4 separate regions of the Homo sapiens genome follow, and regions 1, 3 and 4 are each linked to region 2. The links are contacts of gene promoters, found by promoter capture Hi-C in blood cells and fetal thymus (Javierre and others, 2016). All regions are on one chromosome and are shown on one strand. Each heading gives the region's core, a stretch centred on a gene start or on the middle of the fragment in contact. The rest is flanking DNA. Distances are from core to core; before and after follow the strand shown.

Region 1 (7,051 bases), core at 89-2,588, 430 kb before region 2:
ACACAACACACACACAACATACACAACGTACACACACACAACATACACACACTCATACACAACATACATACACACAACATACACACAACATACACACACTCACATACACAACATACACTCGCACAACATACACACATGCACAAGATACACACACAACACACAACATACACTCACACACAAGATACACACAACATATACTCACACAACATACACACACAACACACTCTCACACACAACATACCCTCTCACATACACGACATACACACACACAACATATGCACGCTCTCGCGCACATATACACACACACAACATTCACTCACACACACACACAGAGTCCCAGCTGAATCTGCATTCCTCATATGCACATACGTGCACACGCACATACGAGGCACATGTGTTCTTGGGTTGGGAGGAGAAGGGCAGGCAGTTATCTTCCAGATCTCCCCACACCTCTGGCACATGCCTTTCCTGGGGTCCTGGGGTAGACAGGAAGGTGAGGTGAGGGAACAAGCGGGGGTGTCGGGCCCTCCTCAGTCCCTGTTCACAGAGTGGGTGCGGCAGAGACCTCAAAGGGACAGAGCAATCATGAGCTGAGACAGAGGGGGAGCAAAGCCGCAGAAACTGCACACTTGCCTTTCAAAAATGGATTTCCTCTCCTGGGATTCAGCCTGCGAGTGCCTGGCCCCTCACCTTGATGGAAAGGATGGTCATTTTCCTCCGAGCTCAGCTGCTGGATATCTTGAAAGTCCTTGGCCATGATGGGGCCCGGGCTGGAGCTGGAGCTGGAGCTGGGCTGGGCTGGGCTGAGGTTGCTCTGAGGGCTGGGGCTGGGGCAGAGGTGCAGATTCACGTGGAGGTTGATGGTGGGATGGAACGCAGGGTCGGAGGGGTTCGGGGTGGTGGCCTGGGTAGGATCTGAGGTTGGCAGGGCGTTTGGGATGAGGTTTGAAATCCCGCTGGGTCCTTTCCCTTCTCAGGAGACCGCTTGGGCCTTGACCTGGCCAGGAGACCCCTCCCCACGCTCATGGACCCGACCACCCACAGCTTCCCATGGGGTCCTCCCCATCCCTGAACCAAGGCCTCCTTGTTCCCAAGCATCCTCGTCCCAGTTGCCTCCCCAGCCTCAGTTACCTGTGAAAGGTGTGGAGAGCGGACACCTGGCTCCCGCAGGCAACCCTGGCCTTGGCCAAGGAGGGGTTAAAGCCAGGAGAACTGGGGCAGGTGGAGCTCACAGGGGAGAGGAGAGTGGAGGAGGGGCTGGTCCGGGCAAGGCCTGCACTGGAGGGTCTGAGTGTCCAAGCTCTAACCTGGCACCTCCTGGCCTGGGACTTTGGACAGTAAACAGAAGAGGAAACAGAGCTGTAACTCATTTGTGGGGTGGGGGCAGGGGACGGGGCTATCTCTGTTCTTATTCCCAGAGAGGGGGGTCCCCTGGGCTGCGCTCAACTCCACACGCCACTCACCCCACTCATTGCACCATTTGGAAGGGGTGCCAGGCCAGGAGGGGCTGGGGTGCAGTTTGCCGTTTCCCTCTCTCCCTCCCCCTCTCACTTCCTGCCTCCGAATTTACCAGAACTGTGGGTGTCTCCAAATATCCCTGACCAGGATCACAGCGACCAGTTCTCTACTCTTGCCCAATCCGGCATCTGAACCACAGACCCCAGCTTCCTGTGGGCTCGGCCACCAGACTCTCAGCTCTGGCCCAACTCGCTTCACTCTCCTGGAGAGTAAAGCCTCTCAAATCCAGAAGCTTCAGCAGGAGGAGGAAGGGGCTTTGCAGAAAAACAGCTCTCCTCGCAGGAGGAATCCAACCTCAGAGAGCCCCGTCCGGCCCAGACCCTGCCCCAGCCCAGGCAACACAAACACTGTCCTCAGGCCCAGCCACTGCCCTAAATTCTCCAAGGTGTTTCTTCATTTATCACAGCACAACACCCCCACGAGGCAGGACTTCTGTTACTCCCATTTCACAGGGTTCGGAAGCGGAGCCTCGGAGAGATGAGGCAACTTGCTCTAGGTGGTGGCCCAGGTGAGTAGAGAAACTGGCAAAGCAAAATGGAGTAAAGAGGGGAAAATAACATCATAACAAAAGGTCTGGCCGGGCACGGTGGCTCACGCCTGTAATCCCAGCATTTTGGGAAGCCGACGTGGGTGGATCACCTGAGGTCAGGAGTTCGAGACCAGCCTGGCCAACATGGTGAAACTCTGTCTCTACTAAAATACAAAAATTAGCCGGGCGTGGTGGCAGGGGCCTGTAATCCCAGCTACTCAGGACGCTGAGGCAGGAGAATCGATTGAACCTGGGAGGCGGAGGTTGCATTAGCCAAGATTGCGCCATTGCACTCCAGCCTGGGCAACAAGAGAGAAACTCCATCTCAAAGAAAAAAAAAAGAAAGAAAGAAAAAGAAAAGAAAAGGTCTTCATGGTCCTACGAGGAAGACTGGCTTCCATGAAGCAAGGAACGTGGCTGACTGTCTACACTTGCGCTAACAATAGCTCGGGAAAGAAAACACAGTTTTTGTGCATGATTTTCTGACCCTCACCAAACTTGGGCGGATGGCTACGGGCAGGGTTTCTTATAAAGCTGCTCGTTTCCCCGGGTGCCGAAAAGGAATTCAAACAGAGGCCTTTTCTGTTCTTGTAACTTGCTGACCCACATGGGAAGTAGCCACCCCCCCAGTACCCTGACATTCCCACCCAGCCACCAGGCAGCAGCAGCCGCTGGGCTCTCTGACTGCAGCCCACAGCGAGAGACGAATTTCATGCTGTGATCCAGAACATACACACAAGCACCCGCACACACAGGTGCATTTGTATGTGTTACTTTCTCCTGGATCCCCAGTGCCTGCCACACAGTAGCTGCTCAACAAGTATCTACTGAGTGAGTGAGTGAATAGAATAATGCGTTTGGAAATACACGGTTGACACTAAAGTTTGATGGGACAATGCTCACCTTACTACGTGCCTTCTGTTGAGTTTCCCAGTCCATTAATGGGTCACAACTCAAAGTCTGAACAACACTGCTGTGAAGCCCCCATCTTAAGGGGCATGTGGATTTAGTCCTGAGATACAGGTAAGAGCTTCACAGATGGATTGTCTACTGCATGTCAAGCTTTGCCAACTGCCAACCAGGGATGGGGCCATCCTCATTGGCCACCCCTTTGACTGAACCAATTCCACGTTTCAGGGCTTGTCACTTACACCCCCACTCACGGCACTACAGGGAGAGAAGGGACAGAGAAAGCCAGACTCATCTGCGTCCTTCTCTTTCTCCCTATTTGAAAATCATTTTAACTTAGAAGTTAACATGTACTTGGACTATTTCTGAAGTTTCCATATTGTTGGAGGTTTTCTGTTTTGGGTTATGGAATCCTATTTTCTTTGATTGATTTTTTTTTTTTTTTTTTTTGAGACAGAGTTTCACTCTTGTCACCCAGGCTGGAATGCAATGGCGCGATCTCAGCTCACTGCAACCTCCACCTCCCGGGTTCAAGTGATTCTCCTGCCTCAGCCTCCTGAGTAGCTGGGATTACAGGCATGCACCACCACGCCCGGCTAATTATTTGTATTTTCACCATGTTGGCCAGGCTGGTCTTGAACTCCTGACCTCAGGTGATCCGCCCATCTCAAACTCCCAAAGTGCTGGGATTATAGGCGTGAGCCATCGCGCCCGGCCTTATTTGGTTGATTTTGATTTGGGGTTTATTTGTACCTCAGACACAAAGGTTAGATTGGTCATATTCCTTACTTCATGACACTAGGTCTTCCTCAGAGGTCTGAGCTAAACCTTTGTCCTGTTTCGTTCTTCCCTAGCTCCCATCCTGTTTCCCCTCACTAATTCTATACTCTCTACTCTCTATAGGCAGCCAGAAGTCTGAGTGCCCTGACAGTCCCCACAGATGGTGCCCATCAATTTCTCCCCTCACCACATGTGCAAGTCACACCACTCAGCCAGGGGTAGAGTCTGTTTCCCCTCCCCTTGAGTCTGGGCTGGCCCTGTGACTTGCCTTGACCAACAGAAAGCACTAGAAATGACACTCTGCCAGTTCTGGGCCTGGACCTCAAGAAACCTGGTAGCTTCAGTTTTCAATCTTGGAAGTCAGTCACCATGCTATGAGGAAGTCCAACTATCCTGCCAGAGAGAGTCCTGGGGGATAAGACAGCACATGGAGAGAGAAAGAGGCCACACAGAGGTGCACTGAGGCCCCAGACATGTGAGCAAAGTCTTCTGGGAGTTTCCAGGGCAGCCCAGTCACCAGCTGATTGTATCCAAGTGTTTCACTCCAACCAATACCCCGTGGACCGCCCAGCCTAGCCCTGCCCAAATTTCTGACCCAGAGAATCTTAAGAAAAAACAGTTGGTTTAAGCCACTGGAGCTTTGGGGTGGTTTATTATGCATCGGTAGATAGCTGAAACAATATATATTACTAAATATGTAGGTACCCTTATAAAATATGTGATGGGGTTTGCATGTCTATCTGTTCTGTATTTACATACACAGAACTTTCATATATCTCATTTGTTTCTGATCTTTTTCACTCAACAAGAAATTTTTTAGAGCTATTTGTATTGCTATTTGTTACAATGGATTGTTACATTGCTATTTGTTTATCTGGTTTGTTGCTATGAACTGCTGCACAGTATTCAATGGTGTGTATCCATCACAGTTTATTTCCCCTAATAATGAACTCAGGTTGTTGCCAACAACTATCACAATTAACATGACGACTGATGTCCTCATCGTGTTCCCATGTGGACCTAGGTGAGAATTTCTCTTGAAACTGTATCCAGGCCAGGTATGGTGGCTCAGGCCTGTAATCCCAACACCTTGGGAAGCTGGAGTTGGGAGGATCACTTGAGGCCAGGAGTTCAAGGCTGCAGTGAACTATGATCGCACCACAGCATTCCAGCCTGGGCAACAGCAAGACCCTTTCTCAAAAAAAAAAAAAAAAAAAAAAAAGGAATGAAAGAAAAGAAAAGAGAAACGAAGGAAAGGAGGGAGGAAGGAAGGAAGGAAGGAAGGAAGGAAGGAAGGAAGGAAGGAAGGAAGGAAGGAAGGAAGGAAACTATATCCCCGAATGGTATTGCTCATTCGCAGAGTATTGCCATACCTAATTCCACTCAGGACTGCCAGACTGTTTTCCAGAATGGCTCTGCCAGTTCACACTCCCACCAGCAGTATACGAGGGTTCTCTTTTTGGCTTTGTCGCTTGATATTATTAACATCGCAATTGTTGCCAAGCTGATGCCATATCCTTGTTCTTTTATTTTGCATTTCTGGCTAACAGTGGGTTTGAACATTTCTTCATCGATTTATTAATCATTTGGGTTTCCTCCTGCATGAATTGCCTTTTCATATCCTTTACCAGTTTTTCTATTGGCTTTCCTGAATTCACTTTGTTGATAAGCCAGAATTTCCTGTATGTTCTACTTGTTCAGAAAACGAGACCTTTTGAAAGTTAAAAAATATATACATGTTGTTAACTCCAGAAAAATTAATAGAAGCTCTGAAACATAAAATTTAGAAAATCTTCCAGGAAAAAAAAAAGACATAGGTTTTTTTTTTTTAAATGATAAAAGTTAAATTGGGAGAAATTATTTTTTCTCTGGTCTCATGCTACTGAATATATTTCCCACTAGGGAAACTAGACAATCTCCAGACTCCCTTTCTCTCTTTTTTTTCTTTCTTTCTTTTTTTTTTTGAGACAGAGTTTCCTTCTTGTTGCCCAGGCTAGAGTGCGGTGGCCGCGATCTCGGCTCACTGCAACCTCCGCCTCCCGGGTTCAAGTGATTCTTCTGCCTCAGCCGCCTGAGTAGCTGGGATTACAGGCACTCACCACCACACCCAGCTAATTTTTGTATTTTTAGCAGAGATGGGGTTTCACCATGTTGGCCAGGCTCGTCTCGAACTCCTGACCTCAAGTGATCCGCACGCTTCGGCCTCCCAAAGCGCTGGGATTACAGGCATGAGCCACCGCGCCCCGCCCAGACTCCCCTTCTTAACCCACTCTTCCTCAGGGGAGGAAACTGACTGATTGGCATGCTTGGCTCCGCCCCTTGGGGGGGCTCCCTTTGGTGTCTTTCTGCCCACAAGAAGCACACCTTGTATTCTACTCTCTGCCAGGCGGCACAGAGCTGCTCCTGCTTTGCCCTCCTCTGCCTGTGACTGGGTGGATACATCTGCTTAATTATTGGATGAACTAATTACAAGGTTTTTTGATCTAAGGTTTTAAGTCAAATCCTCCTTGTTGCTTATCAGTAATTATGCTAACATTTTGATATCCGCTCATCTGTCTACTGTGTCTTGGCTCTCAATTGATTTCAAACTTAAGAGGAAAAGATAGGGTTCTTTTTTTTATTAGCCCCATAAAACCTCCCCAAATAACACAAACAATATGTTCAAAGAACCAACATCCAATTAATAGAAGTTCTAGAAGATAAATAAGAGGAAGAAAAGGAAGAAAAAGATGAAAGAAAGAATACAAGGCTGGTACTTAGAATTAAAAAGGATAAGTCTCCAGATTTAGGTATTCTAGTAATAGCCCAGCCGAGCACATTCATTCAAAAATGACCCAAAGCGTGTCACCATGAAATTTCAGAATACCAGGGATAAACAGAAAATTCCAAAAACTACCAGGGGTGGGAGTAAATCACCTACAAAGAAACAAGAATCAGAATGGATTTCATTTTTCAGCTGTTATATTGAACACGAAGAGACAACAGGATGATGCCTTCAAACTTCCAAGGAAAATTTTTTTCAACCTAGAATTGTAGACTCAAATGATCCATGGCACGAGAGGGGAGGCTACAGAACTGTCAGATATTCCAGTTCTCAGACTATTTATCTCCTACTCCCATGTGAGGAATTACCCCAGAAAGTGAGGAAATTATCCAAAAACAACACATGTAGAAGAACATCTCAGTATAAGCCTTTTTCATTATTAGGAAAGAAAATCTTATTCAGCTTTTTCTGTATTTTTTGCCTACAGGCTGACTTTTTTTCTTATAATGCAAACTGGTGAAATTCCAGAACCTGGCCTTGGAAATGCAAGT
Region 2 (7,558 bases), core at 53-2,552:
GTAGTACTCTTTGTATCCTGAATTATCTCTGTTTCCTCCAATGTCAAATTTTGTTTGTTAATTTTGGTCTTTCTTTCTTTTTTTTTTTTTTTGAGATAGGGTCTTGCTGTGTTGCCCAGGCTGGAGTGTGGTGGCGTGATCTCAGCTCTCTGCAACCTCTGTCTCCTGGGTTCAAGCAATTCTCTGCCTCAGCTTCCCGAGTAGCTGGGAACTACAGGCGCCTGCCACCACGTCCGGCTAATTTTTTTGTATTTTTATTAGAGACAGGGTTTCACCATCTTGGCCAGGCAGGTCTCGATCTCCTGACCTCGTGATCCACCCGCCTCAGCCTCCCAAAGTGCTGCGATTACAGGCGTGAACCATCGCGCCCAGCCAATTTTGGTCCTTCCTTCCTTCCTTCCTTCCTTCCTTCCTTCCTTCCTTCCTTCCCTCCTTCCCTCCCTCCCTCCCTCCCTCCTTTCTTTCTTTCTTCCTTTCTTTCTTTCTTTTTGAGACAAGGTCTGTTGCCCAGGCTGGAGTGTAGTGGTGCAATCACAGCTCACTGCAGCCTCAAACTCCTGGGCTCAAACAATCCTCCTACCTCGGCCTCCTGAGTAGCTGGGACTACAGGCGTGGGCTAATTTTTTAAAACTTTTCTGTAGAGATGGGGTCTTGCTCTTGCCCAGGCTGATCTTGAACTCCTGGCCCCCAGCCTTGGCCTTCTGGGATTACAGGCGTAAGCCACCTGCCGGACCAATTTTGGTGTTTCTTTTGCATGCTGCTGGTCCTCCTCAGATGCTTGGCAATCATTGGTAATGATGGGCTTCAGAACGTGCTACCGGCACAGTGAGTGTTTTAAGCTGAAGGAATTTGAGAAAACCGCAGAAGCCGAAGGATCTTTCTTACCTTCTCCTGCCCTTCTTCCCTGAACCAGGTCATACAACCTGGAACTCCCTGCCCTTTTCCTGAAGAAGCAAATAACAGCCTCCTGCGAGAGGCGCCCTCCCTGCACCTGGGGGAAAGGAGGGTCCTTATCTCTGAAGACACAGGGACACAGAAGAATCTGAACCAACAGGCCTTCCTGAGTTCCCCACCTCCCCGCAGGAGGTGCCCGCACACGCATAGCCCCGTCGCTCCCGCGGCCGCACGCAACGGACCTCGCCCTGGTGGTGCACGCCCGGGCTGGGCGCTCAGAGGTCGGGTGGGCGCCCACTCCGTTCGCTGCGCGCACAGCGCCCGGCGAGAGGCTCGGAGTTTGATCACACACAGCGTCCGGCTTCCTGTCCCCAGCGCCCCCTCCCGCCCCGTTTCCCTTGCCCCTCCCTCTCCCCGGCCCGATCCGCCCGCCGGCTCCCCCTCCCCCGATCCCTCGGGTCCCGGGATGGGGGGGCGGTGAGGCAGGCACAGCCCCCCGCCCCCATGGCCGCCCGTCGGAGCCAGAGGCGGAGGGGGCGCCGGGGGGAGCCGGGCACCGCCCTGCTGGTCCCGCTCGCGCTGGGCCTGGGCCTGGCGCTGGCCTGCCTCGGCCTCCTGCTGGCCGTGGTCAGTTTGGGGAGCCGGGCATCGCTGTCCGCCCAGGTGAGGCCCCGCTGCGCACCCCTTCTTGGGCACATCAGGAGCTGAGACTGCAGAGGGGCCGCTGGGGGCCGCGTGGGCTGAAGGCAAGGGGAAGGGAGGATGGGTGGAGGGTGAGATGTCAGGTGGAGCGGCACAGGGTGACGCTCCCTCCTTCCCAGCAGGAGCCTGCCCAGGAGGAGCTGGTGGCAGAGGAGGACCAGGACCCGTCGGTGAGTGGGCGTGGGCGCGGTCTGCAGGCTGCTGGGGCATGGGAAGTGTGCACAGCCGAGGCTGCAGGTGTGTGCAGCTGTGCCAGCCGTACTCGAGGTGTGTGCAGGGTGTGTGTGAACACAGTGCGTGCATGGGTGCGTGTCTGCAGGGGTGTGTGTGCGTGGTGACAACTCTGTGTGAGGGGTTTGTGCTGGGGTTGTGCCACCTGAGTCTGAGGTGTTTATTGGCTGGGGGTGACGTGGTTGTATAAGATATGTGAGTCTGCGTGGAAGAGGGGTGCGGTTGTGTACAGGGTGTGTATCCTCTGTGCGTGGTGACTGGGTGCGGGCATGTGTGCAATGTGCCAATTGAATGCAGGGTCTGCGTTGGTTGTGTGTGTGGGTGGGAAAGTGTAGCTGGTCTAGAGGAAAGGGTGAGGACTGGGGCCTGACTCCCAGCTTCACCTTTGCCCGGGGCCCCAGCTGTAGTTGGCTGAGGGGCTTAATCTGTCCCTGACTTCTGTGTCTATTGCTGGCTGGTGGCTCTCCTGACAGGCCCCGTATGTCTCACTTTATATCTCTGGGAGTCTGTGGTTGAACCCTGCCCTAATTCCCCTAGGAACTGAATCCCCAGACAGAAGAAAGCCAGGATCCTGCGCCTTTCCTGAACCGACTAGTTCGGCCTCGCAGAAGTGGTGAGCATCCCTCTATCCCAACCTCAGGAAGCGGGCAGAGCAAAAACCATTATCCACAGGGAGAAACTGAGGCACGGAGGGTGAAAGGAGTTCAGAGTCATGCAGCTAACCAGCCAAGACTCAAACCTAGGGATTCTCGCCCTCCTCTGAAGCTCCTTCTGTCATATGGATGTGCTCCTTCAGACCCTACCCCAAACAGGAAGGCAGGGTGGCCATGAGTTAGAAGAACTACTGGGATCCTGATGGAGACTAGGCCTGGCAGTCAGAGGCCTGGGCCCCGGTAGGCAAAGAGACTTAGGAATGGGATGATGGGGTGGCCGGATGACCACGTGTCCAAGTCGGCATGCAGTTGTCCTGGCCCCCACCTGTTATCTCGGTGTGATTAATAGCAGCTTCCCGTTTTGCTCTCAGCAGTATCCCAGTGTGGATGACAAATTATAGTCACTCTACTTACTGAGGAAGATGAGGCCTGAGATTCTAAGGCCAGGAGTCTGGACAAGAATAAGGATGCCAGGGTTCCTGAGAGGGGAATGGGGCTGGGAGAGTTGCTCTGGGACCCCCACTAGGGCCCGCTTTGCTCATCTGTCTTTCCTTGATCCTCAGCACCTAAAGGCCGGAAAACACGGGCTCGAAGAGCGATCGCAGCCCATTATGAAGGTGGGTGATGGGTGAGCCATACCCAGGAGGAGAGGGGCAGGTGGCAGAGGGTCAGGGCAGGTCTCACCAGCCTTTTCCTGTACTTTACAGTTCATCCACGACCTGGACAGGACGGAGCGCAGGCAGGTGAGACCCCATCCCCCGACACAGCACTGGCCTCCTGGGAAAAGGGCCCTTGAAAACCTTTGACCTCCCACTCCCTTCCCGGCCATCAGTCTCAGAACCACAGAAGCCAGTTCATGAAGGTCTTGGTTCTCTCTGTGACCCAGGCGTGGGACCCCATGAAAGACCCCTACTCTTCCCCAGAACTCTGCCCAGTTCCCCCAGCAAATCACTGTCCCAGCTCTCTCCTTCAGCCCTCATTCTTCTCCAAGAAGCACTTTTCATTCTTTTTTCTTCTGTCTCCTCCATATTCCACGTTCTGATGATCTTTTTCTCTAAATGCTGCTAGTGTCTGCTCATCTTTTCCATTTCTACCCCACCCTCTACCTCAGCACCGTGACCTCAGAACCTCAAATCCAGCCTCTTGCTGCTTCCCCACTCCACACCCTCCCTACCCCTCCACTCCATCTGACCTGTGCTGCCATGCTGAGCCCCTAAACTTCACTTTTCTTGTGGTATTGGCTCTCTACATGGCTTCCAGTCTCTTCGTGGTCTGGTCTCAACCTAATTTCCCTGCACTCTTATGCTGTCTTCATGTTTGCTGCGCTGACACCCCTGCTCCCGGTGTGCCTCTTCTGGACTTTGCACATACCATCCCCCTCACCAGAATGTCTTTCCACTGTGAGAGGCAGGGAGGCATGAGGAGTGCTCAGCCGAGGGGTTCACAGCAGAGATGGTGAGAAGTGGATGGGTTCAGCCTGTGTCCTGAAGATATTACTGACTTATGGGTTGGAGGTGAAGAATAAAAGAAAGGGAGGAATCACAGATGACTTCTAGATTTTTTATTTTTTTTAAGACAGTCTCGCTCTGTCACCCAGGCTGGAGTGCAGTGGTGCAATCTCGGCTTACTGCAACCTCTGCCTCCCAGGTTCAAGAGATTCCCGTCTCAGCCTTCCAAGTAGCTGGGATTACAGGCGTGTGCCACCACGCCTGGCTAATTTTTGTATTTTTAGTAGAGATGGGGTTTTGCCATGTTTTCCAGGCTGGTCTCAAACTCTTGACCTCCAGTGATCTGCCCGCCTCGGCCTACCAAAGTGCTGGGATTACAGGCATGAGCCACTGCACCCAGCCAGCTTCTAGATTTTTAACTTGGGTATCTCTGGGAAGAATGATGCCATTTCCTAAGAAGGGATTGACCAAGGAATAAATAGGTTGGGAAGTATGTAAGATAATTATTAACGTTGAGAAGTCTAAAATAAACAAGCGGATAAATGACAATAAAGTAAATTCCAGAAATGGATGGCTGGACATTGTCGACTAGCTTAGGCTAGGTCAGGACGGATAAAGCCAGGAGTCATGGCCATATGGATGGCTTTTTTTTTTTTTTTTTTGAGACAGAGTCTCGCTCTGTCACCCAGGCTGGAGTGCAGTGGTTCGATCTTGGCTCACTGCAACATCTGCCTCCTGGGTCCAAGCGATTCTCCTGTCTCAGCCTCCCAAGTAGCTGAGATTATAGGCGGGTGCCACCACACCCAGCTCATTTTTGTATTTTTTAGTAGAGACAGGGTTTCACCGTGTTGGCCAGGCTGGTCTTGAACTCCTGATCTCAGGTGATCCGCCAGCCTCAGCCTCCCAAAGTGCTGGGATTACAGGTGTGAGCCCTTGTGCCCGGCCTATCGATGGCATTTAAAGCCACAGGATTGGGTGAGACGCCAGGAGAAAGAAGGGCCCCACGAATGAAGCCCTGAGACTCTTGGGCATCTTGAAGTGGAGCTGAGGGGAAAACCAGCAGAGACTGAAAAGAAGCTGGAGAGAGAGGAAGAAACCCAGGGAGGGTGGCATCCTGGATTCGGAGAAACCACTGTTTCAAGGAGGATGTGGCTGTCTGTGTTGAATGCAGCTGAGAGATCACATGAAATGAGAACAGAGAAATGATGGCTGGGTTTGGTAACGTGAAAGTCCTGCTGACCTTAAAGAGGGTGGTTTCAGTGGCATAGTTAGAACAGGAAGGCAGTGTGCATTGGGTTGAGAAGAAAATGAGAAATAAGGAACTGGAGGCAGGGACAACCTTTTTTTTTTTTTTTTTTTTTTTTTTTTTTTTTTTTTTTGTGACAGAGTTTCACTCTTGTCACCCAGGCTGGATCCAGTGCAATGGCACGATCTCGGCTGACCGTAACCTCCACCTCCCGGGTTCAAGCAATTCTCCTGCCTCAGCCTCCCCAGTAGCTGAGATTACAGGCATGCGCCACCACGCCTGGCTAATTTTGTATTTTTAGTAGAGACAGGGTTTCTCCATGTTGGTCAGGCTGGTCTCAAACTCCCGACCTCAGGTGTTCCACCCGCTTCGGCCTCCCAAAGTGCTGGGATTACAAGCATGAGCCACTGCACCCGGCCTAGGACAACCCTTTTTAGAAGTTTCTCTGTAACAAGGAGCAGAGAAATAGGCCAGTAGGTGGAGGGGTGTGTGGACCAAGGAAAAGTTTAGTTCTGTGAACAATACTATTTTCATCTGATCTAACATGTACTGAGGGCTTTCTTGAGATAGGCACTGTGTCTGGCACTTGTGTTTGGTCTTATCTAATCCTCACAACAGCCCTAAAAGGAAGATACTCTAATTACCTCCATTTTACAGATGGAGGTTACACAACTTGTCTGAGGCCATGAGATACTAAGTGGTGGAGCCAAGATTTGAACCCAGCTAGAATGTGCCTGTGTACTGGACATGGTCTGCATGAAAGGCGAGGTGGCTGGTGCAGGGGTGAGGGGTCCATGCAGGGGCCACATCCAAAAAGGGGAGAGGGAAGTTTCCAGAAAGAAGAGAGGACACATCTCCCACCATTACCAGAGGGTCAAAGGAGAACAAGAGACCAGGTGGGTTTGTAGATTTGCTGGGGGGAGATGAGGGAACCTTTGCTCGATGACTTCTAGGTCCTCTGGACAACTAGGGAGATGGAGACAGGAGATTTGAGGAGAAATGGTACAAAATCTCAACTTGCTGATTATGAAAGCAAGCTTCGTGGGGGAATGTAAGATTGCCAGGCAGGACGGAATGTCCAGGTGAGGTTTGTGGCTGGAGACAAGTGATATACCAGGCAAGCCCTCCGTGCTCCTGGGCACACCATGCCCTTAGGCTACAAGCAGCCTTTGCTTAGGCTGGCTTCGTAGCTAGGAATGCCCTCTCTTCTCTGCCCTCCCTACTCTTCATGCCCAGATCAGCCTTCCTCCCCTCTGTATAGACCACTTATTTTGGCAATTATCCAGACATTCATTCATTCATTGACTCAACAGGCATTGAAGACCTACTGTTTGCTAGGGGCCAGGCTAGGTGCCCACAGCAACTAATATCCAGACTCTTTTTTTTTTTTTTTTTTTTTTTTGAGATGGAGTCTCACTCTGTCGCCCAGGCTGGAGTGTAGTGGCGCGATCTCGGCTTACTGCAAGCTCCGCCTCCTGGGTTCATGCCATTCTCCTGCCTCAGCCTCCCAAGTAGCTGGGACTACAGGCGCCCGCCACCACGCCTGGCTAATTTTTTTTTATTTTTTAGTAGAGACGGGGTTTCACCGTGTTAGCCAGGATGGTCTCGATCTCCTGACCTCGTGATCCACCCAACTCGGCCTCCCAAAGTGCTGGGATTACAGGCGTGAGCCACCGCGCCCAGCCGGTCAGACCCATTTTTTTTTTTGAGATGGAGTTTTGCTCTTGTTGCCCCAGCTGGAGTGCAGTGGCGCCATCTCGGCTCACTGCAGCCTTCTCGGGTTCAAGTGATTCTCCTGCCTCAGTCTCCCGAGTAGCTGGGACTACAGGCGCCTGCCACCACGCCTGGCTAATTTTTTTTTTATGTTTTAGTAGAGACGGGGTTTCACCGTGTTAGCCAGGAGCGTCTCGATCTCCTGACCTCGTGATCCACCCACCTTGGCCTCCCAAGGTGCTGGGATTACAGGCGTGAGCCACTGTGCCCAGCCTCAGACCAACTCTTAAGGAGTCACTGTCTAGGAGAGGAAACAAGCATATAAATTTGTAATTACAGGAACATACAAAAAAAATTAGCCAGGTTTGGTGGCACATGCCTGTAATCCCAGCTACTCAGGAGGCTGAAGCATGAGAATCACTTGAACCCGGGAGGCGGAGGCTGCAGTGAGCCGAGATTGTGCCACTGCACTCCAGCCTGGGTGACAAGAGTGAGACTCCATCTCAAAAAAAAATTTGTAATTACAGTGGAATATGACAAGAACAATAATAAAAGTGGCCAAGATACCTGGCAACACAGGGGAAGACAGACATGGCTGTGGAGTCAGGGATTCTCTCCCTGCATCGCAAGGTGCCGCTGGGCCTTGAAGCAGGAGCGTAAGACAAGACAGG
Region 3 (7,546 bases), core at 4,557-7,056, 410 kb before region 2:
CCCTTCTCTCCCCAGCACTTCCCTGCCCGACTCCTGTATCAGAACCAAATGGTTTTCTGTCTTCTCGACAAGATCACAAGGTTCTTTGAAGCCAAGCACAACCAGAGGGTCCTGGGGGGTGGGGGTGGGGGGGCACCATATGCCCATAGCGTGGCAGCTCTTCCCTGTGCCAGAAGCACAGAAATGAAGGGACCCTGCCTTCAGGAACAGCACAGTTAGGAGGAAAATAAGGCTGGGCACGGTGGCTCATGCTTGTAATCCCAGCACCTTGGGAGGCTGAGGCGGGCAGATGGCGAGGTCAGGAGATCGAGACCAGCGTGGCCAACATGGTGAAACCCCGTCTCTACTAAAAATACAAAAAAGTTAATCGGGCATGGTGGCGCACACCTGTAGTCCCAGCTACTCTGGAGACTGAGGCAGGAGAATGGCTTGAACCCGGGAGGCTGAGTTAGCGGTGAGCCGAGATGACACCATTGCACTCCAGCCTGGGCAACAAGAGCGAAACTCCATCTCAAAACATAAATAAATAAATAAGAGGAAAATATACAGGTTCACAAGCATGGAGTGAGTGGGACCCCAGAAATAAGGTGTCCAGGGAGGGTTTTCTGGAGAAATGGTGCCTCAGCCACCCCTGGAAGAGCCTCAGTCCAGAACCTCACCCTCCAGAGTTTCCACCTACACACCTGCCTGTCAAAAGACAGCAAACTCCAGGAGAGCCACTTGCCACAAGTATATAGGATCTAATATGTTTGTTTGTTTTCATATAAAATTAATTTCAAATTAAATATTCCTGGATGATGAGGAGTTACCGAATGGGTACAAGGTACATTTGTTTGGGTGATGGAGATTCTAAAAGCCCTGAGTTCACCACTCCACAATCTATGCATGTCACAAAATTACACTTGTTTCCCATAAATTTATAAAAATAAATAAAGCTGGGCCGGGTGCCGTGGCTCACGCCTGTAATCCCAGCACTTTGGGAGGTTGAGGTGGGTGGATCGCCTGAGGTCAAGAGTTCGAGATCAGCCTGGCCAACATGGCGAAACCCCATCTCCACTAAAAATACAAAAAAAAAAAATTAGCCGGGCACGGTGGCGGGCGCCTGTAATTCCAGCTACTCAGAAGGCTGAGGCAGGAGAATCGCTTGAACCCGGGAGGTGGAGGTTGCAGTGAGCCGAGATTGCGCCATTGCGCTCCAGCCAGGGCAACAAGAGCGAGACGCGGATCTTTTGAGCCCAGGAGTTCAAGGCTGCAGTGAGCCATGATTGAGGCACTGCATTCCAGCCTGGGCGACAGAGCCAGGCTCATCTCAAAAACTAAAAATAAAGAAATTCTGACACATGCTACACCATGGATAAACCTTGAAGACATTATGCTGAGTGAAATAACCCAGTCACACAGGGACAAATATTGCATAATCCCACTACCTAAGGTAGTCAGATTCATAGAGACAAAAAGTAGAATGGTGTGGTCGCCAGGGGGAGGGGTTGGTGGGCGGGGAATGGGGAGTTGCTGTTCCATGGATTTAGAGTCTCAGTTTCACAAGATGAAAAGAGTTCTGGCCGGGCGCGGTGGCTCACGCCGGTAATCCCAGCACTTTGGGAGGCCGAGGAGGGCGGATCACGAGATCAAGAAATCCAGACCATCCTTCCTGGCCAACATGGTGAAACCACGTCTCTACTAAAAATACAAAAATTAGCTGGGCGTGGTGGCGGGCGCCTGTAGTCCCAGCTACTCAGGAGGCTGAGGCAGGAGAATCGCTTGAACCCAGGAAGCGGAGGTTGCAGTGAGCCGAGATCACACCACTGCACTCCAGCCTGGCGACAAAGCGAGATTCTCTCTCCAAAAAAAAAAAAAAAAAGATGAAAAGAGTTCCATGGATGGTTGCACAGCAATGAATGTGCCGCGTGCAACAGAAACGCATACTTAAAAACGGTTAAATTTTATGTGGTGTGTATTTTACCACAATTTTTTATGTAAAAGGCAAAGTTTTAAAAATTACTGCAATCAGTATTAAACCTCATTTCATATTTCTAGTTTACTCTTTCGCCCTTAGGAAGTTGGGTTTTTTTCTTTTTTCTCTTATGTTCCCAACATCAGGATAGCAGCGCCACCGTGTGGTCACAGCTGCAGGTGCCAGTCTGAAAGAAGAGAGACTCCCCTGCACCCCAACTATTTTTTAATACAGGTTGAGCGACCCTAATCCCAAAATCCAAAATCCGAAAGGCACCAAAATCCAAAATTTTCTGAGCCACAAGTGGAAAATGTCACACCTGACCTCATGTGACAGGTTTCAGTCAAAATGCCATCGAAACTGTTTCATGCACAAAATCATTTAAGATAATATATAAAATTACCTTCATAGCCTGGACAACATAGCAAGACCCTGTCTCTACAAAAAATTTAAAAATTAGCCAGGACTGGTGTTGCACGCCTGTACTCCCAACGACTCGGGAGGCTGAGGCAGGAAGATCACTTGAGGTCAATCAATCTGCATTATACTTCTAAGTAGCTGAAGTGAAACATTAAACAGTAAAGAGATCATTCTTACATAGCTAAGAGTATTCAATTATTCAGCTCCTGAGAACTATTTGGCTACACTTACTTATTATCTTTCTTTTGCCAACTGGTAAGACATCCTAGCCTGAATCACAAAAACACTTTCTGGTTCACATCTTAGAGTCGAAAAAGGCTTGCGAAGCCCCTAAAGGTGTTGAGGCAGCTTGGCCTGAGACCGTGATAGCTTCTGTTTCATCCCCAGATCTATTACATGGAGTTCAGAAACCAGGACGATTGCATTTATAAGCCCCAAATTTAAAAGATTATTTGAAAAAGAGCTTCTTGAGTTTTACTCTTGATACACTAAATGCAATCCACAGCCTCTCTGCCCTAACAGACTTTCGTGTTCCTTCCCTCTTTTATAGTAAAATTAGGAAGTGGGGAGACGGGACAAGTAAGTAAGGGAATCTGCACAGGCTGAGCAACCCCACCCTCAGCCTTGCTGAGTTCTCTCCACCCAGAGGACACTGTACTCCTGCTCTGGGAAGACAGCGCCTCCCGCCAGGGGATTCCGCCAACCACCGCTCCCTGCAATCGGGGTTACCAGTGATGATTCTTCCCCCAGCATCACCCTACGGTGTCTTGGCAGCCTGCCTCCTTCACAGACTGCCTCGAGAGTCCCTCAGAGCTATTTCCTTAAAGACCAAATGCGAGCATATCTTCACTGACGGGGTTTCAGAGCCTCACTTTGCAAGTTTTGAGGCAGAGGCTCAAACTAATTTTGCTGAGAAGGACAGGAGAGCTGAGAGAAAATCAAACAGAACGGCGGCTCTCCTCCCATTCATGGCATGTAATGCTCTGGGCCCAGCTACATCTGCCATGGCCTCCAGGGACCTGCTGGAGGGGTCTCCCAGCCCCACCTGGTATAAGCCAAGCCTGCTCCAGACTCAGGATCTGCCCAGAGGGCTGGGATCTCACAGCCTGAGGTAAGCATGAGTCAGTCTGAATGTAATCTACCCTCCCTACACCCCTTCCCAGCCCCAGCCTCTCTGAGGGGTCTCATAGCCACCCAGCCTGCCTGTGACCTTTGCTGGCTATAGCTTTTCTTCCCATTAACTTTTTTTGTTTTGTTTTTGAGATGGAGTTTCACTCTGTCGCCCAGGCTGGAGTGCAATGGCGCGATGTTGGCTCACTGTAATCTCTGCTTTCCAAGTGCAAGCAGTTCTTCCCCCTCAGCCTTCCAAGTAGCTGGGACCACAGGCACCCACCACCATGCCCGGCTAATTTTGGTGTTTTTAGTAGAGACAGAGTTTCACCACGTTGGCCAGGCTGGTCTCGAACTCCTGACCTCAGGTGATGCGCCCGCTTCGACCTCCCAAAGTGCTGGGATTACAGGCGTGAGCCACCATGCCCGGCCCCCATTAACTTTTAATAATAAAACATGGTGGCCAGGCGCGGTGGCTCACGCCTGTAATCCCAGCACTTTGGGAGGCTGAGGTGGGCAGATCACGAAGTCAGCAGATGGAGACCATCCAGGCTAACACGGTGAAACACCCCGTCTCTACTAAAAATACAAAAAAATTAGCCGGGCGTGGTGGCGGACGCCGGTAGTCCCAGCTACTCCGGAGGCCGAGACAGGAGAATGGTGTGCACCTGAGAGGCGGAGCTTGTGGTGAGCCGAGATTGCACCGCTGCACTCCAGCCTGGGCGACAGAGCAATACTTCATCTCAAATAATAAAATAATAATAATAATAATAAAAACATGCTGCCTGATTACAGGAACTTAAACTTGTTTTGTTTACCCAAGCTGACATGTAAAAGTTACTAATAACTTCTTTGTCTAGGCAAGTTAGCAAATGACTTTGTAAGCACTGAGCAGCTCCCCTTAACTGTTTAAGTGGGAAGCCAGCCGTCGCCTACCCCAGGCAGGGGAGGCAGGACTTCTCCAGTGGCTCAGGGGAGACTGCCCTTCTTTGCCAGTTTTGGTTTGCAGACAGGTCACTGAAAGGTGGGGCCAAAAAGCTTCTGTGAAGCAAAGAAATTTGAGACCCTAGTCCCTTTCTTTTGGAGATCTAATGTCCTTAGAACCTCTGTGATGAACAGAGGCTCTAGCTGAAGTCCACTGACGGGGAAAGGCACCAAAGGGCCCGAGGGAAGCCCATCATGACTGAAGAGGAAATAGAACAAGTGACCCTGTGTCTTAGTCAGCTTGCACTGCCATTGCAAAACACCACGGACTGAATGGCTTAAACAAAAAAAAAACATTTCTTTCTCACAGTTCTGGAGGCTAGGAAGCCCAAGGTGAAGGTACCGGCAGATCCAGTGTCTGGGGAGGGCTCACTTCCTGGTTTACAGACAGCCACCTTCTTGCTGTGTCCTCACGTGGATGAGAGAGCACACTCTGGCCTCCTTCTCTTCCAACAAGGGCACAAATCCTATCGTGGGGACCCCACCCTCACAACCTCATCTAAATGTAATTATCTCCCAAAGGCCCCACCTCCAAATATCATCACACTGTGGAGTAGGGCTTCCACCTATGAATCCGGGGTGGGGAGGACAGAAACATTCAGTCCCTAGAATCCTGTATCAGTGCTAAGGCCTGGTAGGGTTTGTGAGGGAAGCCGCGTTTGGCACAGGCTGAAGGTGCCCCCTCACCAGATAGAGGCTGAGAAGATGTGCTTTGAGGACCTCTGCTGAGCAGGGCTATGAACTGAAGTGTTTTTTCCTCTGGAGCCCGAGGACACGGTGCAGTTGCTCAGCAGCACTAAGGAGGGACTGGGTGTGCCCTGAGCAAGCTGTCATTGGGGGTTAAAGACTGAAACTGTCACAGCCTAGGTGCCTAGTGGCTTCCGGGACAGAGCTAAGCAGGGCACAACAGGGGTAGACGGTCTGTTCCATTAAGCTTTTGAAGCTCGTTGTCTGAGGTAATACCCAAGGTTCATCGTCTCATGCCAAGGAAATTGAGGATGCAGGCACACACGACGAGTGAGTTTAAGAGCAGAGGTTTAATAGGCAAGAGAAAGAAAAGCTCTCTCTCCTGCAGAGAGGGAGGGGCTCCCAAGTCGGTCTTCTGGCTCCGAGGTGAAATGCACTGGGTGTTATAGGTGAGCTTGAGGAGGCAGTGTCTGATTTGGAGGTTTTGCCTTGTTTTGTTTTGTTTTGTTTTTGAGACAGAGTTTCGCTCTTGTTGCCCAGGCTGGAGTGCAGTGGCACGATCTCGGCTCACCGCAACCTCTGCCTCCCAGGTTCAAGGGATTCTCCTGCCTCAGCCTCCCGAGTAGCTGGAATTACAGGCATGCACACCACGCCCGGCTAATTTTTGTATTTTTAGTAGAGACGGGGTTTCACCATGTTGGTCAGGCTGGTCTCAAACTCCTGACATCAGGTGATCCACCCGGCTCAGCCTCCCAAAGTGCTGGGATTATAGGCGAGAGCCGCCGCACCCACCCGGCCAGGCAGTGTCTGATTTACACAGAGCCCAAAAGATTGCGGGACCAGGTATGCCATTTACATAGTGCAAGAAGAAGCTGGCCGCCCCACCCTAATCTTTTATTATGCAAATGGATTCTCTACCTGGTTGGCATCATGTTGCTGCTTCCTTTACTGTACAGGTGGTTGATAAGGAAAAGGGAAGATGAAGCCTCCATGTTGAACATGCCTGGCCCCAGGTAGCCTTTTCCGATTGGCACGGCTGCCGCCATTCACCCGTTCAAGCTTCCAGCTTGCCTGTCAATGTCTGCAGCTCGATTTTACAGGCTGCTCTTTGTTAGAAAAGAAATGATGTGGGGGCTGCTTTTTGTTAAAAGGGATGCCTTACCGAGGACTCTCTTACCCTCACCAACTGCCTAAGTAATTTCTTTTTAGCTCCCGTATTACTGCATCAAACTATAGCCAGATCCACGGTGACTACAGCGCAGCCACGGCAGGGGTGGCCTCTGGCTGAGCGGGACTTGTTTGCAGCAGCAGCATCTGGTGGCAATCGCAGAAATAAGAAGGCAGTCGAGGCCGGGCACAGTGGCTCATTGCTCATTGCTTGAACCCAGCAGGCAGAGGTTGAAGTGAGCCAAGATCGCGCCACCGCACTCCAGCCTGGGCAACAGAGTGAGACTCCGTCTCAAAAAAAAAAAAAAAAAAAAAAGAATTTCGGCATTTGAGAAAAGGCTTAAGAATCTGGCATTGAACAGGCTATCCAGCCCAAAAGGGACCTCACCTGCTTTGTTGATTGTTGAATGGCCCAACTACATCTGGTTGCAGTGGCAAACGGCTGACCTCCACGAGCAGCTGAAAGTGCCTCCTGCAAGTGACCGACTCATCCAGGCCTTGGACCGAGAAAACAGCTCCTCAACTGCATCAGCTGGACCATGGTACAGACCAGAGACAGGGCAAGAAAAGAAGCAGAGGCTATTGGCCCGTGCAGAGAAGAAAGCTGCCGGCAAAGGGGGCATCTCCATGAAGACCCCAACTGTCCCACGAGCAGGGTTAACCCCGACAGCACCTTGGTGGAGAACAAGAAGCCTCAGCTGGTGGTGACTGCACGTGACTCTCGTCGAGCTTGCTGTCTCTCTGTCTGCGCTGTGTCCTACAGTGGGGTTCCCTTACTGCGTTATCCAGGGGAAGGCAGGACGGAGATGCCTGGTCTGCAGGAAGACCCCAGAAAAGACTGTCACCTTCACACAGGCTCACTGGGAAGACAAAGCAGCTCTGGCTAAGGTGGCGGAAGCTATCAGGACCGATTACAATGGCAGGTGTGACGAGATCCACAGTCACTGGGGAGGCAATGGAACCTCCTTTGCAAAAATTATAACTGAGGAAATTATGACAGTGAAAGAAATCAGACCTAACCGACTCCATCTTGCGTCTAACCTTTAAGCTGTCCTTGTCCATTCCTCGGCGTGGGCTGAACAAACTTCGGGGAGGAATTCAGCTCGTGGTTTGACTCTGAAACAAAATTGATAATAGCCCTTAACCGAAAAGACTCTTCTTGCCTGGGGACCAGTCTGCCTTTGCAAGACTAACAGATTAGCTACGAGATCAGAAATTGTAGTT
Region 4 (7,415 bases), core at 4,779-7,278, 490 kb before region 2:
GGGAGGCTGAGGCAGGAGAATTGCTTGAACCTGGGAGGCAGAGGTTGCCGTGAGCCGAGATCGCGCCATTGCACTCCAGCCTGGGCAACAAGAGCAAAACTCCATCTCAAAAATAAAAATAAATAAAAAATAATAGAGAAGAAAAAAGTCAAAATAAGTTTTATTCATTCAGTCCTTCATACAAAATATTTATAGACAGCTACCGCGTGCCAGCTGCTATGCTTAGGGTTCGGGATACAAATGTGAATAAGATATAGTCTCTCCCCTCCCAGCCCCACAATCAAATCAGAGGATCATCACATAAAGAAAAGAATTCTCAGCACAAGGACGGGGACACATACACCGTAGAGTGGTGCATGGGAAGAACTGACTCATTCCTCTTAGGACTGCTGGGAGGCTTCACAGAAGAGGAGCCCCTTGGGCTGGGTCTTGAAGGATGAGTAGGAGTTTGCCAGATGGATCTGTGGGCAGGGGCGTTCCAGGCAAAGGAAGCAGCTTGTGGAAAATCACAAAGGCATGAACCAGCTTGGCACATTGTTTATTGTTTGGGGAGCTATAAATAGCCGCTGTGTGGAGAACCGAGCATGTGTAGGAGGATAATGTAGGATTAAGCTGCTGGGCAGAGGGTCCCGTCTGAAAGGCCTTGAAGGCCAGGCTAAGGATATTCCTCCAGAGGCTGATACTACTCCAAAATGTCCAATGAAGTAGCACTCACTAATACTCACTAATAATGGAAGCTGAATACAGAGGAGAGATGAGTCATGCCACAATCAGAGGCGCAAGGAGAGTTCGCCTTTTGCATGTGGGAAATTTCTTTGAAATATCTTGTTTTATGTTAAAAATTCATGCAGAATTTTTCATTCTACTTTTTTTGTTTGTTTGTTTGTTTTTGTTTTGTTTTGTTTTGTTTTTGAGACCGAGTCTCTCTCTGTTGCCCAGGCTGGAGTGCAGTGGCACAATCTCGGCTCACTGCAAGCTCGGCCTCCCGGGTTCAGGCCATTCTCCTGCCTCAGCCTCCCGAGTAGCTGGGACTACAGGCACCCACCACCACGCCCGGCTAATTTTTTGTATTTTTAGTAGAGACGGGGTTTCACTGTGTTAGCCAGGATGGTCTCGATCTCCTAACCTCGTGATCTGCCCGCCTCGGCCTCCCAAAGTGCTGGGATTACAGGCGTGAGCCACTGTGCCCAGCCCGATTTCTGGAATTCTCACACACAAAGATGCCAAAGGTGAGTGATGAATCACTGAATGAGAGAAACATTGAACAAAGGAGTCATTGAATGAGTGGACTCCGTGCCTGGTGCTCCACAGAATGCAGCAGTGGTACAGGAAAGAGTCGCAGATGGACCAAACCACGAAGGCCTGCCCATGTGGGGACAGCCCTCAAAGCAGATGCTGAGCTAGATGAAGTCTATAGGGAGATCGTAAAAGAGTGTCAAGCATGGCACATCATTTGCTTTGGGGACCACAGGATCTGGGAATGCGTCCATGTTTGCAAACTCTAAAACTGCTCTGGGGCTTTTTCATGGGAACTCCTGCCGGAGGTTCTCGGGGCCTCTGGAGTCTGCAGCCTCAGGGAAGCCCTGAACTAAGCCCCTCTATTTCCCAGCACCCCCACCAAGGGGCTCCCGCTGCAGAAGGTGGACAGGGAGGGAGGCGGGCAGGCAAGAGTGAGTGGCGTTACCCACAGGAAACATTCCTCTATTTGGGGTGCTCAGAAATATGAGGCTCTACACTGCTTGGCTCAGCTGATCTTGGGTTGTTTTTTGAGACTGATTTTCACTCTTGTTGCCCAGGCTGGAATGCAATGGCATGATCTCGGCTCACCACAATCTCAGCCTCCCGGGTTCAAGCGATTCTCCTGCCTCAGCCTCCCAAGTAGCTGGGATTACAGGCATGTGCCACCACGCCTGACTAATTTTGTATTTTTAGTAGAGATGGGGTTTCTCCATGTTGGTCAGGCTGGTCTCGAACTCCCAACCTCCAGTGATCCGCCTGCCTCAGCCTCCCAAATTGCTGGGATTACAGGCATGAGCCACTGCGCCTGGCCTGGGTTTCTAAGACCTAATAGAGCTGCCTCTCACCCCTCACCCCCCAGAATGCCCTCTTCCCTGGATCACCCAGAGACCAGGCCGTGGAAAGTCAGCGTAGATCTAAAGCCCACACCAGGGCCTGGAAAAGTGGGAGAAGCACACGACCTGCAGAGGGGATAAGGACACAAAGGTCAGGGTTTGTGGCTCAGGGCCAGGTAGCACGTCGCTGAGATGCTCTGAAATGGGGAGTGGGTCATTGAAGCAGGAGGCCAGGGGCTCCTTGTGTATCGGGAACAAGTCTGCTTGGACGACCATATCAACTGGAAGAAGGGAGATGGAGCCGAGTCTCCTGAGCCTTCCTTGTGTGGGGACTGAGACTGCGGTAGGACTTTGCTGAGTCTGAGGCTGTGGGGAAGCTGGTAATAGGGTTGAGGGGGCACAGATGAGACAGAGCTAAGGCTGGAGCTGGATTGGAGCCAAGGCCTTGGATGGGCTGGGAATCCTACCTCACATTACTCTTCTTTCTTTCTCTTTCTTTCTTTCTTTCTTTTTTTGAGACAGAGTCTCACTCTGTCACCCAGGTTGGAGTGCAGTGGCATGATCTCGGCTCACTGCAACCTCCACCTCCCAGGTTCAAGCAATTCTCCTGCCTCAGCCTCCCAAGTAGCTGGGATTATAAGAGCTCACCACCACGTCCGGCTAATTTTTGTGTTTACATTACTCCTTTCTTATACCCTCTACCAAATCTGTCTCCAGTGCCTTTTCCAATCCAGGCCTCATCCCTTCCCTCTGTCGTCACCATCCCCTTCCCACCCTATTACATGTTGGGGGTCTGGAGGACCTGATTCCTGGGTCTCTCTGGACAGCCCAGAATCCAGGACAGGGGATCAGGGACAGTAGGGGAAAGTGCCCAGCTAAAGGCTCTGCACCTGGTCTGTGTCTAAATCTCCAAACGTGTTTTATTTTGTTTTGTTTTGTTTTTTTGAGACGGAGTCTCGCTCTGTTGCCCAGGCTGGAGTGCAATGGTGTGATCTTGGCTCACTGCAACCTCTGCCTCCCGGGTTCAAGTGATTCTCCTTCCTCAGCCTCCCAAGTAGCTGGGATTACAGGTGCCCGCCACCATGCCTGGCTAATTTTTGTATTTTTAGTAGAGATGGGGTTTCACCATGTTGGCCAGGCTGGTCTCAAACTCCTGACCTCAGGTGGTCCGCCCACCTCAGCCTCCCAAAGTGTTAGGATTACAGGCGTGAGCCACCGTGCCCAGCCTAAATGTGTCTTACCTGGCATATTCTATTAACAGTCTGGGACTTTGGCCAACATCTGTATCAAAGTTGTGAGTCGTAAGCCATGGGCACTAACTCTGACTTATTTAAGGAAAGAAATGATTTATTACAGGATACTGCGTAGTTCACAAAATCACCAAGAAACCTACAGAGCCAAGATTGGCAGAAGCAGAGGCCACGAGCCTATAATGGGTTGCTAAAGCCGCTGTTATCACCACAGGACACTAGATGTCGCTGCTGGCAGCCCTCTGTGACCACTGGGCCTGGAAACAGCTGCTGCTCCTCGGACGTGTTCTCTGCTTCTGGGCCCTCAAATCTAAGTCCAGTGATCCTGACCACCGGAACCTAGGCCACGTGCTTTCATCCTAGCTGGAAGGGGTGGCAGGAAGAGTGAGAACCTAGTGCTTTCAGTGTCTATAGACAGATGGGTTCTGCCTCCCTTCAAAAATAATAAGGTGGGCCTGGGCACGCGGTGGCTCACGCCTGTAATCCCAGCACTTTGGGAGGCCGAGGCAGGTGGATCACCTGAGGTCAGGAGTTTGAGACCAGCCTGGCCAATATCGCAAAACCCCACCTCTACTAAAAGTACAAAAATTATCCAAATGTGGTGGCACGCATCTGTAATCCCAGCTACTTGGGAGGCTGAGGTGGGAGAATCGCTTGAACCAGGGAGGCAGAGGTTGCAGTGAGCTGAGATCGCGCCACTGCATTCCAGCCTGGATGATGGGGTGAGACTCCATCTCAAAAAAAAAACTAATAATAATAAGGTGGAAATTTTCTTAAAGGCTTCAGATGCAAGAAGGCCAAAAATATCCTAAAACTGTGTAAGCCCAACTAAAATGGATTATTAGAATAGGAATGAGAATCCAATCGGACCTGGTGATTTTTTTTTTTTTTTTTTTTTTTTTTTGAGATGGAGTCTCCTCTGTCGCCCAGGCTGGAGTGCAGTGGCACGATCTCGGCTTACCACAACCTCCGCCTCCCGGGTTCCAGCGATTCTCCTGCCTCAGCCTCCTGAGTAGCTGCGACTACAGGCACCCGCCACCATGCCCGGCTAATTTTTGTATTTTTAGTAGAGACGGGGTTTCACCATATTGGCCAGGCTGGTCTCGAACTCCTGACCTCGTGATCCACCCACCTCGGCCTCCCAAAGTGCTGGGATTACAGGCATGAGCCACTGTGCCCAGCCAGACCTGGTGAGTTATTAAAAGCACAGTCCCTGAGTTCCGACTCCCACCATTTCCAGGCATCTATAAAAAGGGGGCAATGCTTCAAAGGATTGTTGGTGAGACTTCAGTGAAGTAAAGCTTGGGAAGGACCCAGCACAACTCCAGGCACAGGGCAGGCGTCCTACAAATGTAGGTTCCCATCCATTTCATTCCATCCCATTTTCTAGCCACCGGTAGCCACCCTTTCATCTCTACGCCAGTCCAATTCTACTCCAAGTCACTATGCCCCTCCTGTCTGGATTTGTGAGGGGCAGTCAGACCAGAAGGGGCCAGAAGGTGATATTTGTCATCTCCCTGCTGCTATACCAACCTCTCAGCTACCTGAGTTTTTTGGGTCCCTTTGTCTGCCTTCCCAGCCTCAGCCTGAGACCTGGGCATCTGACTTGAAGGATGCAGGCTCTTAGTGGACATGGTAACCCACATCAGCCCTTAGGGCTGCAGCAGCCCTGCCTGGCCAGAGTCTCTACCTCCCCAAGGAATATCAACCAGGACCAGAAGCCAAGGCAGGAGGGGACAGGAGGTCAGATAACAGGTTTTCTGCAGGGATGTAAATTACACATCTTGGAGGATCTGACATATGCAAGGCAGAGTTTTGGGGGCCCAGTAAGCAAATGGTGCCTGTTTTCTTGCCCCAAGGCAGAAATGCCTTTGTGAACACTGGGAGGAGTCGCGTGGGGGCTAAGCCCTGAGAAAGTCCCAAAGTCATAGAAGGGCCCAGACGCTGAAGAGGCTGCAACTGGCTGCAGTGGATGCCACACAAGCCTCTTCCTGTCCTTGTGCAGGTGGATCTTGTCCCTCCCAGTGCGTTCCTTTCTGTACCTCTTGTTGGCCATGAATCTCCTTTGCCCCTGCCCACATCTCCATGCCATTTCCTCTGCAAAGCTTTCTCCTGCCTCTCCCCTACTGTCAAAACGTTTTAAATGCTGGGCAGCATCTCTTCTTTAGGGTTCCTTCCCTCTATCCCATTCAAAGAGCCATACCCAGCTTTAGCTACCTCCATCTCAAGCTTTCATCCTATCTTTCTCTCCTCCATTCACAATCAGGAGTCCCTTGCAATGAGACCGATTCTGGTTTAAAACACATTTGTGAGGGACGGGTGTCATGGTCTCACCTGGAGGGAAATCACACCTGCACAGGCCTACAGAGAGGTGAGGCGGGGCCTCGGGCATCTCATCAACTGGGTACGTAGAAAGAGGACTCTGATTTTTTTTTTTTTAGATGGAGTCTCATTCTGTCACCCAGGCTGGAGTGCAGTGGCGCAATCTCTGCTCACTGCAACCTCCGCCTCCCAGGTTCAAGCAATTCGCCTGCCTCAGCCTCCCGAGTAGCTGGGATTACAGGCACATGCCGCCATGCCCGGCTAATTTTTTGTATTTTAGTAGAGACAGGGATTCACCGTGTTACCCAGGCTGGTGGTGAACTCCCAAGCTCAGGTAATCCACCTGCCTCGGCCTCCCAAAGTGCTGGGATTACAGGCTTAAGCCACCATGCCCGGCCGAGCACCCTGATTTATGGGTAATCAGCTTCCCCTTCCCTGGGCCCAGGGATCTGGGAGATAGGAAGTTGATGCCACCGCCCCAAGAGCTGATGTTTCAGGACTGTGGCCAGTGAGTGCTGAACACAGTGAGCAGCAGAGTGGGCTGACACCTGAGCTCCAGGACTCATAAAGCCCCGCTGTTCTTGCATGGCATGTGGTTTCTGGGTTTATTTCCCTGTTGTCCTTGAGGAGAGTATATTTATTCCCTAAGTATGCAGGGCTTAGGGCTAAAAGCATTCCCCATGCTTACAGAAATGCTAGGGATATGAAAAAGTGTACCGATTTCCAAATACAAAAGGCAAACTTAAAAATCTAAAGTAATGAATATTAAAGCGTTTTTAAAAATGTCTACAAAACATAATATTAGTCCATTTCTTTGTTAAATTTCATGTTCCTAAATTTTCATTACATTGGAAAACAATTTGAAGCTTTTTTTCACTTTGCAGGATTTCCTAAATGTTTATCGTGATTGCTGAGAAATCAGAGCCAATCATAGATTCACTGAGTTTCTTATAGACAAACAATCCTTTAAAAGAATAAACGTCCTTTTAAGATTTTAAACGGCAAAAAATCTTAGAAATCTTTTAAATTTTTGGGCCGGGCACGGTGGCTCACGCTTGTAATCCCAGCACTTTGGGAGGCCGAGGTGGGCGGATCACGAGGTCAGGAGATCGAGACCATCCTGGCTAACAGGGTGAAACCCCATCTCCACTAAAAACACAAAAAAATTAGCCGGGTGTAGTGGCGGGCACCTGTAGTCCCAGCTACTCGGGAGGATGAGGCAGGAGAACGGAGTGAACCCAGGAGGCGGAGCTTGCAGTGAGCAGGGATCGCACCACTGCACTCCAGCCTGGGCGACAGAACAAGACTCCGTCTCAAAAAAAAAAAAAAGAAATCTTTTAAATTTTTAATTGTAAAAATATATTTAGTGTGGAATGTGAGTGTATTTTAGTATATGTTATTAAGAGGCAACATAACATGGTGGGACAAACACGAACCCTGGAACCAGATTGTCTGGGTTCAAGCCCTGGCTTTGGTACTTACTGGCTATATAACCTAGAGCAAGTTATTCAACCTCTCTTTGCAATAGTTCCCTCATCCCCAAAGCAAATTATAATAGTTCCTACTTTTGAGGAAAAAAAAGATGGTAATTGCTATGATCTTAATGTTTGTGCCTCTCCCCGTCAAATTCATATGTTGAAATCTAATCCCAGGCCGGGTCCGGTGGCTCACGCCTGTAATCCCAACACTTTGGGAGGCCGAGGTGGGCGGATCACCTGAGATCAGGAGTTCGAGATCAGCCTGACCAACATGGAGATACTCTGTCTCTACT

Evidence for each region. The method cuts DNA at HindIII sites, captures the fragments that hold promoters and counts their contacts. A CHiCAGO score of 5 or more calls a contact.
Region 1: a contact is called between the fragment with the promoter of ASGR2 here and the fragment with the promoter of TNFSF12 in region 2, in 1 of 17 cell types (monocytes). The highest score is 5.5, in monocytes.
Region 3: a fragment that was not itself captured here is called in contact with the fragment with the promoter of TNFSF12 in region 2 in 1 of 17 cell types (monocytes); the score reaches 5.9 in monocytes.
Region 4: a fragment that was not itself captured here is called in contact with the fragment with the promoter of TNFSF12 in region 2 in 3 of 17 cell types (monocytes, M2 macrophages and total B cells); the score reaches 5.4 in monocytes.

The regions. Positions count from the first base shown.
Region 1 is chr17:7,113,484-7,120,534 of GRCh38, forward strand. It overlaps ASGR2 (asialoglycoprotein receptor 2), which reads right to left and starts at 1,339. Exons shown (of 9, transcript NM_001201352.2): 1 at 1,132-1,339; 2 at 634-827. The coding sequence starts at 757. RefSeq lists an enhancer at 1,491-2,277. The HindIII fragment of the contact is 6,715 bases long and covers 1-1,748 here.
Region 2 is chr17:7,547,756-7,555,313 of GRCh38, forward strand. It overlaps TNFSF12 (TNF superfamily member 12), which reads left to right and starts at 1,303. Exons shown (of 7, transcript NM_003809.3): 1 at 1,303-1,557; 2 at 1,719-1,766; 3 at 2,365-2,440; 4 at 3,044-3,097; 5 at 3,188-3,223. The coding sequence starts at 1,399. It overlaps TNFSF12-TNFSF13 (TNFSF12-TNFSF13 readthrough), which reads left to right and starts at 1,303. Exons shown (of 11, transcript NM_172089.4): 1 at 1,303-1,557; 2 at 1,719-1,766; 3 at 2,365-2,440; 4 at 3,044-3,097; 5 at 3,188-3,223. The coding sequence starts at 1,399. RefSeq lists silencers at 1,198-1,387, 1,418-1,497 and an enhancer at 7,136-7,558. The HindIII fragment of the contact is 9,939 bases long and covers 1-6,209 here.
Region 3 is chr17:7,134,314-7,141,859 of GRCh38, forward strand. It overlaps LOC105371512 (a long non-coding RNA gene), which reads left to right. Exons shown (of 3, transcript XR_934191.3): 2 at 2,925-3,485; 3 at 6,365-6,450. It also overlaps the pseudogene RPL7AP64. Among named protein-coding and RNA genes, the nearest start is that of ASGR2, 23 kb to the left of the region's middle. The HindIII fragment of the contact is 812 bases long and covers 5,401-6,212 here.
Region 4 is chr17:7,048,690-7,056,104 of GRCh38, forward strand. No RefSeq gene overlaps it. Among named protein-coding and RNA genes, the nearest start is that of SLC16A11, 8.3 kb to the left of the region's middle. The HindIII fragment of the contact is 959 bases long and covers 5,550-6,508 here.